2 separate regions of the Homo sapiens genome follow, and region 1 is linked to region 2. Evidence: promoter capture Hi-C in 16 types of primary human blood cells and fetal thymus (Javierre and others, 2016). All regions are on one chromosome and are shown on one strand. The core of a region is centred on a gene start or on the middle of the fragment in contact, and the rest is flanking DNA. Distances in the headings are between cores, read along the strand shown. Region 1 overlaps MYO1D (myosin ID). Region 2 holds the start of C17orf75 (chromosome 17 open reading frame 75).

What was found. The method cuts DNA at HindIII sites, captures the fragments that hold promoters and counts their contacts. A CHiCAGO score of 5 or more calls a contact.
Region 1: a fragment that was not itself captured here is called in contact with the fragment with the promoter of C17orf75 in region 2 in 1 of 17 cell types (naive CD8 T cells); the score reaches 5.2 in naive CD8 T cells.

What each region holds. Positions count from the first base shown.
Region 1 is chr17:32,755,961-32,760,971 of GRCh38, reverse strand. MYO1D (myosin ID) reads left to right here. Exons shown (of 22, transcript NM_015194.3): 9 at 345-490; 10 at 568-682. Among named protein-coding and RNA genes, the nearest start is that of MYO1D-DT, 120 kb to the left of the region's middle. The HindIII fragment of the contact is 1,200 bases long and covers 2,988-4,187 here.
Region 2 is chr17:32,340,687-32,346,371 of GRCh38, reverse strand. C17orf75 (chromosome 17 open reading frame 75) reads left to right here and starts at 4,199. Exons shown (of 10, transcript NM_022344.4): 1 at 4,199-4,372; 2 at 5,088-5,168. The coding sequence starts at 4,233. It also overlaps the pseudogene OOSP1P2. RefSeq lists silencers at 4,413-4,492, 4,987-5,169 and an enhancer at 3,632-4,518. The HindIII fragment of the contact is 3,672 bases long and covers 4,025-5,685 here.

The DNA of each region.
Region 1 (5,011 bases), core at 2,338-4,837, 420 kb before region 2:
AGTTGATGAAATTAATAATAAAGCAATGAACTGGCTTATTCAAGGGATCAGGCAAACTATTGATATAGCCGGGCAGGGAAACATGCCTGGAGAGTGTCGTTGGAATTGGTATAATGACCGGTAATAATCTTTTAAAAATACAAGCTATTTACTTTAGTTTTGCATACATCAGGTAGTTTGGGTTTTTTTAAATGGACAGTCTACATTTTCATTTGTTCTGCTGAGGCCAGTAATGGCTATGCTAAACAGTGAGAAGGTGGACAGGAATTTAAAACTGATCACAAATCCAAACAGAGGACTCATTCCCAAATTGGCAAGCATTTATGATGCTATTTTCCTTGCAGGCAATATATGAGCGCCTTTTTTGTTGGATCGTTACTCGCATCAATGATATTATTGAGGTCAAGAACTATGACACCACAATCCATGGGAAAAACACTGTTATTGGTGTCTTGGATATCTATGGCTTTGAAATCTTTGACAACAACAGGTAAACTGGAAAAGATACTTAAAACCTTGTTGCCTGTTTTCTATTTGTTGAAACTTAATTTATTCCTTTTCTTGTAGTTTTGAACAATTCTGTATCAATTACTGCAATGAGAAACTGCAGCAGCTATTTATTCAGCTGGTTCTGAAGCAAGAACAAGAGGAATACCAGCGGGAAGGGATCCCCTGGAAACATGTGAGTGGACTCTTATGGAAAATGCCTTCATGTGTTTCTCATATTATTGATAATGTCAAATTTTATTTTAGGTATTTCTTGATCTTTTGGGGGTATTTGAAACATCTGAACCTTAGCTTTCCTTTTTGGGATATGTAAATACAATTAATTTCATCATTTTTAGGTGGGATTGCTATAATTTGATAGACTGCCTTGTTGATGCCCAGAACATCCTGAGTTAGAACCAGTAAACCTGTTTTCACTTTATGGCTGCTACCACGTGGACTTACTGGTTTATATCTGTCTGTTAGGTTTAGCATACTTTATTAAGTTATACCTTAAATTGGCTGAACTTTGCTTCAGAATCTAGTTTCTTCTTCCCTTTTTCCTCCTTTTTCTCCTCTTCTACTTTGTAGACTATATGGTATTTTATTGTCTTCAGTTAATGTTGTTTATATTCTCTGAAACCTACACATTAAAATACTTGTTTTACTTTGCATTTTCTTGTGTATTACACTTCAATTATCACCTCTACTCTAATCAATCTTTGGGAACTTTTGTATTTGTCAGAGGCAAACTAATCTGGTAAGATATAGCTGGAAAGTATAATGGGTGCACAGTGCAAACCACAGAGATCAAAGCTAAAAGGCATGACTTGTTTGGTTTTTAAATTTCCTGTGATAAGACCTTCTGTTTATGATAGAAATGAGACATAGTAATTTTTCTTGTAAGTTTGTATTTTTAAGCAATTTTGAGAATAAACTTGAAAAATACAAAAACTTTTAAGTTTCTGTAGTTTGAGTTTATATGATTGTTCATCCTCTTGCCAGAGAATAGAAATGAAGCCAGTATTTGTTTTTTGTTATCCAATATAATAGCAGCAAAAAAATATTTGAAATACTATATTTAAATGACTTTTATCTTCCTTCCTACCTATTTTCTATTTCCTCTCATTCTGAAATAAAGAGACAGTGATATAACAAATAGCTTTCCCGCCTCAAAATTGTATCTGCCTTCCATCATGTGTTAAACGTTAGAATACCATAAAACAGTTGCTCAGGTATATTGGCATAAATTTTACCTATCTGCATATAAACCAAAGGGCTATTTTATATAAGAATTATCTATAGTTTGACTTAAATAATGAACTCTCCTAATACAATTAAAATTTAATTCAGTTCAATTAAGTGTATATGAAGCTTTCTAAGAATGAAACTGTTGTATAATATAATACACGGTATAACTGAAGCTTGGATTTTTAATACCAAATTTAATCATAAAACTTGTTATTCAAATGTGATTCCAAGGTACTAGTCAAAAATATCCTTTCACAATCAGAATATCAAATTTCACAGACATAATTGACAACAGGGTAAGTAATGCAGTGGACTGTTCCAAACATCTCAAAAAGAATTAAGAATCCCAAAATGCAAAAAATTTTCGCTAAATAAACCAAGAACTATTTGTCCTAGAGGGAGCAGAAGGCTAACTCCAAGGTAACAGTTACTTACTACATGGCAGATCCCCCCACAATTAGAATCTCTATTCTGGGTAAAACCCCAAACTTCTAAACATAGTGATTCTTTTTAAAAGATTTTTTATTATGGAAAATTTTAAACACACATTAAGAAGACAGACTATAGTACAGTAAACCCTATATACCCATCACCTGGCTTTAACACGTACCAGTTGATTGCCAGTCTTATGCCATCTGTACTATACCCACCTACTCCCAGATTATTTTGAAGCAAATTTCAGATATCACATTATTTCATCTATTCAATTGGGTATCTATTCAGTAAATATTTCCATGTATTTCTCTAAGAGAGTTTTACAAAAACCATAATCACAATGCCATTATCATACCTAAAACATTAACAAAAATTCCTTAATATCATAAAATATCCAGTCAGTATACATGTTTCATATTTCCTTAATTGTCTTCTGGTTGTTGTTTTGCAGGTTAAATTTGGATCCAAATAAGTTTCTTACATTATGATTGATTGATAGGTCTCTTGCATATCTATAGATTTTCTCCATGTTTCTTTTTTTCCTTGAATGATCTCTCTTTGCAATCTTGTGTTGAAGAGAATGAGTCATTTGTTATGGAGTTCCCCACAGTCTGGATTTTGCTAATTGCATTCCTCAGGTGCCATTTAATATGTTTCTCTGTTTCTTGTATGTCCTGTATATTGGTTGTTAGATCTAGAGTCTTGACTGGATTCAGAGTCAGTTTTTTTCCACAGCCCATTTCATAGACTGTGTGTGAACTTCCACCAGGAGGTTCATAATGTCTGGTTATCTGGTACATTCACTTTTAAAAGCTTTCGATGCTGTAGTTTGCAAATCATTTTAACTATTGAGAACTTGATACTCAAGCACAAAGCTGTTTTATCTGGAGTGGGTATGAAAGGCCAGAGCCCCATGTCCCTAAGCTACCCCATCACAAGTCTTCTGGCTCCTGGTATCCCTTAGGAAACCTTACGGGAATGCCAAGTTGCTGGAAGAACTTAGTTTGAAAACTACTGGTTTAAGCAATGTTTGAAGCAGTATTAAACTTACAAACTGAAAGTTACTAGCAGAGACCAATAGCTTTTAATAATATAATTGGGATTTTAGGGAAGGTAATTCTTTAGTCCCTGGGACAAAAGACTTCGTCTTTAATTTCACAGTCCCGAAGTCTAAGATGTCAACTATTAATATAGAGCTCCTGCTTTTTGAGTATTTTTAGGATTTTTTTTCCAAAGATGGAAATAACTTTTCTCCCTAATTAGAAATGTAATAAATGCCCATAATGAAAGTAAATATTTAGACCTACACTGCTTCACCTCAGTACTACTGAGATTTTGTGCCAGATAGTTCTTTGTTGTGGAGGCTGTTCTATGCATTGTAGGATGTTTAGCAGCACCCCTGGCCTCTACCCACCAAATGACAGTAGCACCCCTACCCCATTTTGACTAGAAATGTCTCCTGATATTGCCAAATGTCCCCTGGTGAGCAAAATTCCCCCTATTCCCCTATTTGAGAAACTTTAGTTTAGACAGATCAGAAAAGTATAAAAAACAAAGTAAAAACTACCCAGTTTACAGGTTTCAGTCCATAAGATACAGAAGAGAACATGCAAGACTAGAAATGGAGCTAAAAGCCATGTACAAATAACTGGCATAAAACCTTGGATTTTAAAGCATGAAATGGGAATACATGAGTCACTTGAATGGTCTATTATGAGTATATAGACCTTATAGAAGGTAATGGAGACAGCAATCAGTTTAGGTAACTCCTGCGTAAGATGGGACATAGCAAGATTAAACTGTGTGATCATAAGCTGCCCCTCTTTGAGATGTGCAGCTTGCCTGAGTTGGCCTTTCTTTGTGTGCCTTCTGTGTGTAGTGATAGGTACATTGCAGGCTGTCAGAATAAACAGGTGTGGCAGAGGATTGTTGGACAAACCTTGTACATGTATAGTTGCTGAAAAGCCAGAAGTTATTTATAACTTCATTCACCTTGTGGAAGTAAAGGAAAAGCTTTTTCTTATCTTTTATAGATATTTATTTCTCAGAATTAAATTCTTTATATTATGCCTAGAAAAATGTAAAAATTCTACTGAATTTTTTCAAATTGTTCAAAATTCTATTGAAGCTTTTTAACTTTGGGGAAACCAAAAGAAATGCTCTTTTGGATTTTAGTCATTCAGGGTCATGTAACTAAAAATGCAAGTTCTTTTTTTTTTTTTTCCGTTTTAAGTGGAGTTTATTTAACACTAAGAGATAAAGGGTTGTTAACAAACACAATGACAAATGGACATCTGATTGGGATGAGGCATTATCCTGTACACATAATGTTGATATTTTTGTGTACCCTCAGTGCATGGCATTTACACATAGAGCCACTACTGCACAGCACAAGAGTATCTGAAGAGGCTGAATCAGAGTAAGGCTGTTTAAAAGACTGAAATTTTTTAGTATATATATTCTGCATGAAAACAGAACTTTTGAACTGGCAGGTAGAAGGCAACTCTGCCAAACACTACAGTTAAAGCCCCCACTTTAGTGCACAGTTCCACCCCTTCCATCTGCATGCGTGACACATTAACAGTATTTAAAGGTAAACGAGGCACTTTGTGGCAACTGCAGCCATCGTTATGAACATATTGCACAAAATTTCTAGAACTAAACATTTAACTTGTACCCTACTTTTATAAAATTGCAAGTTTTGTGTAGTACCTTAACTTTATTATGAAGTAGTATATCAGATAATACTTTAAGGTTATTTGTTGGCCCTTTGTGGAAGGTGGACCTTACAGTTAATGGCAGGCAGATTGGTATGAAGGAGTAGGGTTGGGTGTGGGAT
Region 2 (5,685 bases), core at 2,950-5,449:
CGTAGCACACTGCAGCCTTGATCTCCTGGGCTCAATGGATCCTCCCACCTCAGCCCACGGAGTAGCAGGGACTACAGGGCCATGCCACCATGCCTTGCTAATTTTTGTGTTTTTTGTAGAGGTAAGGTCTCGCTTTGTTGTCCAGGCTGGTCTTGAACTCCTGGGCTCAAGTGATCCTCCTGCCTTAGCTTCTAAGTGTTAAGATTAACAAGCGTGAGCCACCATGCTGTGCCTCTCGTTGTAGTGAGTTTATAGATAAGCAAGGGGAGGAGGCTAGAATGATCCATGCGGCCATGGATTAGAGCTGGAGACACCAGAATGAACTCGTGTTTATTTTAAAATAGATACATAGAGAAATATTTATGGATATGTGTATATACTAAAGTTAGTATAGATACATATATCAGCTGAGAGGGCCTAGAAGCAATAATGTCCCATATCAAGCATACTTTGTCCAGAGATCTTGGTTTGTAATACCATTCTCCAGTAAAAGCAACCTGAGGTCCTTGGAGAAATGGTTGATTCGGACCAGGCACGGTGGCTCATGCCTGTAATCCCAGCACTTTGGGAAGCCGAAGAGGGCAGATCACGAGGTCAGGAGTTCAAGACCAGCCTGACGAACATGGGGATTCTGCTGCCTCAGACTCCCGAGTAGCTGGGACTACAGGCATGCGCCACCACGCCCGCCTAATTCTTATATTTTTAGTAGAGACAGGGTTTCACCATGTTGGCCAGGGTGGTCTCAATCTCCTGACCTTGTGATCTGCCTGCCTCAGCCTTCCAAAGTGCTGGGATTACAGGTGTGAGCCACCGCGCCCGGCCAGGGGAATTCTTTTCAACCTAGAATTCGATGTCCAATCATATCAATCTAAAATTCTATTTCTTTTTTCCCCCCTGAGATGGAGTCTTACTCTGTTGCCCAGGCTGGAGAGCAGTGGCATGATCTTGGCTCACTGCAACCTCTGCCTCCCAGGTTCAAGTGATTCTTCTGCCTCAGCCTTCTGAGTAGCTGGGATCACAGGCGTGCACCACCAGGCCTGGCTAATTTTTGTGTTTTTAATAGAGACGGGGTTTCACCATGTTGGCCAGGCTGGTCTCGAACTCCTGACCTTGTGATCCGCCTGCCTCAGCCTCCCAAAGTGCTGGGATTACAGGTGTGTGCCACCATGCCTGGCCCCTAAAATTCTATTTCTAAGGAATATCCAATCAAATGTGAAAATACAATAAAGACGTGAGGATATATTTTCAGACATGCAAGAGCTTAAAAATTATTTTATATATACCCTTTCTTGGCTAATATTGGAGGCAGTACTTGAGCAAATCAAGAGAATAAACCATAATCTAGAAAAAATGGGATTAACAGGGAAGAATGTGAAGAAATCCAGATAAGAATAGAAGAAAGGGTTGTTGGGGGGGACTCTATTACTTCCTTTCTTTCTTTTTTTATTTTTATTTATTTTTTTTTGAGACAGAGTCTCACTCTGTCACCCAGGCTGGAGTGCAGTGGCATGATTTCGGCTCACTGCAACCTCTGCCTCCCGGGTTCAAGTGAGTCTTCTGCCTCAGCCTCCTGAGTAGCTGTGACTACAGGTGTGTGCCACCATGCCAGGCTAACTTTTGTATTTTCAGTAGAGATGGGATTTCACCATATTGGCCAGGCTGGCTTCAAACTCCTGACCTAGTGATCCACCCACCTCGGCCTCCCAAAGTGCTGGGATTACAGGTGTGAGTCACCACGCCCGGCCGTATTAGTTTCTTTCTTTCTTTTTTTTTTTTTTTTTGAGACAGAGTCTGGCTCTATGGCCCAGGCTGGAGTGCACTCTGCCTCCCAGGTTCATGCCATTCTCCTGCCTCAGCCTCCCAACTAGCTGGGACTACAGGTGCCCACCACCTCACTGGGCTAATTTTTTGTATTTTTAGTAGAGATGGGGTTTCACCGTATTAGCCAGGATGGTCTCGATCTCCTGACCTTGTGATCCGCCTGCCTCGGCCTCCCAAAGTGCTGGGATTACAGGCGTGAGCCACCACACCCAGCCACTGTATTAGTTTCTTATGGCTGCTATAACACGTACCACCTGGGCATGGTGGCTCACACCTGTAATGTCAGCACTTCGGGAGGATGGGGCAGAAGGATCACTTGAGCCCAGGAGTTCAAGACCAGCCTGAGCAACAAAGTGATACACTGTCTCTATAAAAAATAAAAATACAGCTGTTTCCTGAGTGAGATTTGGCTTTCAGTCTGGGCAAATGAAGACCATTTTGCGGTTAAATGGGCTCTTTTTTCTCAATTCCTTGATATGGACCTGTGCTGGGGACTGGTCGGCTATTCAAGTACAATGCACCCAGTTTTGGTTCTGTGCCAGGATTAAACCCACGATATTTCACAATTTGTATATGAACCCCGATGAAGTGTTTCTAGGAGATGGCTGCCTTGTAACCTAGTTTTGCCAAATATCTACTATGAGTTTTTCTACCATCCTCATGACTGTGGTAACTCAACCTCTCCAGGAAGTTCTTCTGCTTAAAACTAAAATCAAGTATATCTCAAGAGACTACTGCCGATCTGAAATGCCTCTGTCATGTGTTGTCCGCAATCAGAATCCTCTTTTAAATGTAGTTGAAATGAGAGATAAGGAAACTGACAATGTTACTGAATGGGAGATAGAGGTGAGGATACCCATTGCGAATGAAGACATGGCAGTAACTTCTGCAATACAATCTTTTAAGAATCTGACTGCTATACTCACTTGTTCATCAAATGAGTACCTTTATTGCAAGAGAAGAAACTGTGCTATCCACTTTGATATGGAGAGGCAATTTGGAATCTCTGCCATAATTGCTTAGGACTGAGGATTTAATGTGCTATTTTGTGAAAATCTGAGAAGCAGGAAGGGGATTTAACGATCTCAACTGTTATCCATCTGAAAAACCTAACTTGTAATTTTAAATGAAATGGCAGGTTGCCTTCCACTATTCCTTTTTAAAAATAGGAACTGCCCCTGCTTTTAACTTTATGAAGTTTTATTTATGAATAAAGTTTGCACTACTAAAAATAAAAAAAAAAAACACAAAACACACGCATGCACACACACACGGTGGCTTAAAACAATGGAAATGTATTATTTCACAGTTCTGGAGGCTGGAAGTTGACATGGAGGTGCTGGTGGGGACATACTCTCTTGAAGCCTCTAGGGGAGAATCTGTTCCATGTCCTCTCCTAGCTTCTGGTGATGACCATCAATCCTTGACATTCCTTGGTTTGTAGATACATCACTCCAGTCTGCCTCCTCCTTCACGTGGCGCTATGGTTTGAGTGTTTGTCCACTCCCAAATTCATGTTGAAATGTAATTGCCATTGTAAGACTATTAAGAAGTGGGGCCTTTAAGAGCTAATTATAAATTGCCCAGTCTTTGGTATCCTTTTATAGCATCATAAAATGGACTGAGACAGAAAACTGGTACCAGAGAATGGGGTGTTGCAGAAACAAACACCTGAAAATGTGAATTGGTGTTAGAACTGGGTAATGGGCAGAGACTGGAAGGGTAGCTGGCATTACAGGCGTGAACCACCACACGTGGCTAATTTTTTTGTACTTTTAGTAGAGACACAGTTTCACCATGTTGCCCAGGCTGGTCTTGAACTTCTGACCTCAAGTGATCCGCCTGCGTCGGTCTCCCAAAGCACTGGAATTACAGGCGTGAGCCACCGTGCCCGGCCTTTTAGTTTTTACGTAGTCATTTTTTTAAACGTTTTCCTGTATGACTTCTAAGTGTTTTGTTATGTTTGGAAAGACCCTCTTCAAGAATTAACAAAATTATCCCATATTTTCACTTTAACAAAATTCATTTTAAATTCTTAACTTTTTGATCAAACGGGTGTCTGTGCGTGCTGGCACGCGCGCAAGGAGGCAGACGAGTAGCCTTATTCTTTTCCATGTGGCTAGGTAGTTGTGCCACCTTTATCACATAGAAAGTTTCCCAGATGTCTCAAAGGAAAATAAGTTCAAAATAAATGGTAAAAGCTTGTCAGTAAAGGCGAACTCAGTACGCCTGTCAGCCCCTGTGGGGAGAAGAGACTCCCTTTCCAGGCCAGTCCTTGCCTGCGAACCCGGGGAAACCAGCGGAACGCAGGTGTGCGAGGGCCGGGAGCCGGACGAGCCCTGATACCGACGGCTGCACGGGAGCAGGGGAGCGGTTTGGCGGAGACACAGGGCCGCTCAGAGGCCGCCGCAATGCTCCCCTCTTTGCAGGAGTCGATGGATGGAGATGAAAAGGAACTAGAGAGCAGCGAAGAGGGAGGCTCAGCCGAGGAGCGGAGACTCGAGCCGCCGTCCAGCAGCCACTACTGTCTTTACAGCTATCGCGGAAGCAGGTGCTGGCGCCCAGCTCGGCCTGCCAGCCCGCCCGCCCCTGCGGCCCCGCCCCCGGCCCGCCGCCCGGCCTTGCACCCCACCCCCGGCCCAGCGGCCCGGCCGCTCCTAAAAGCCATCTTCTCCTCTCCCAGCCAAGGTCTCTGGCCTGAAGGGCGCTCCTCGCCTCCCGCTGCTCTTCCTGGCCCCCGTCGTGGACTTGTATGCCTGGCCCAACCATGCCTGTGCCCTTCATCTGCCCCTATATCATCCCAGCCTCTTACTCTCGCGGCTGCCCTTTGTTTAGCGCAGTGCCCCGCATGCTCAATAATTTCAGTTCCCGTCCCCTCTCCTTTCTGTCATTATCTCCCCACTTCTCCCATTTCTGTCACACACACCCCCATCCCCACCCTCTGGTTTTCCTCTGTTCTTGATTCCTCTTTTTCCTCCTTCTGACTTTCCTGGAACCTTCTTGGCCTTGTCAAGTTTGGTTTTTAAAGGAGTTTCCTTGAACCTTCTGGGTATTTAGCCTTTCCTCCACCCGTTAAGTGGCCTGGAGAGAGAAGGGGCTCTTGTCAGCACTGCTGTATGGGTTTTCCTTGTCATGAGGATAGGCAGTGCACTTCCACCTTGCAGCATTTTTAGTTGACTCCTTGCCTTACCCTGCTTGCCAGGCCCCCATACTCCTCTTGGTTTAGAGCCCATAATTGATAGCACTATTGGTTTTGTGGCTTGTAGATTGGCACAGCAACGAGGGGACAGTGAGGACGGAAGCCCAAGTGGCACAAATGCAGAAACTCCCTCTGGTGATGATTTCAGGTAAAAAGAGCTTCAGCATAATTCATGCATGTGCTTTCATCTTCCCTGCATCTCTGGCCTGTACATGTCAGTGGATACTCTATTTCCACTGAGCTTTCCCTGAGTCAAACCGTCAATTCCTCCTATCCCCTAGGAACCTCATCCTGATTTCCTCATTGGCTGGTTCATTCAAGGCTGGGGCAAACAAATCCACATACTGATAGTGTGCTTGGTGATTAGCCAAAAAGAAATCCTTTTTTTTTCTTTTTCCTTTTAAATTGAGACAGGGTCTTGCTCTGCTGCCCAGGCTGGAGTGCAGTGGCATGACTTTGGCTCGCTGCAGCGTCAACCTCCCCGGCCTCAGGTGATCCTCTCACCTCAGCCTCCCCAGTAGCTGGGACTACTGACCACCACGCCTGGCTAATTTTTGTATTTCTGGTAGAGATGGGGTTTCACCATGTTGCCCAGGCTGGTCTTGAACTCCTGGACTCAAGTGATCCGCCCACTTCTGCCTCGCAAAGTGTTGGGATTACAGGCA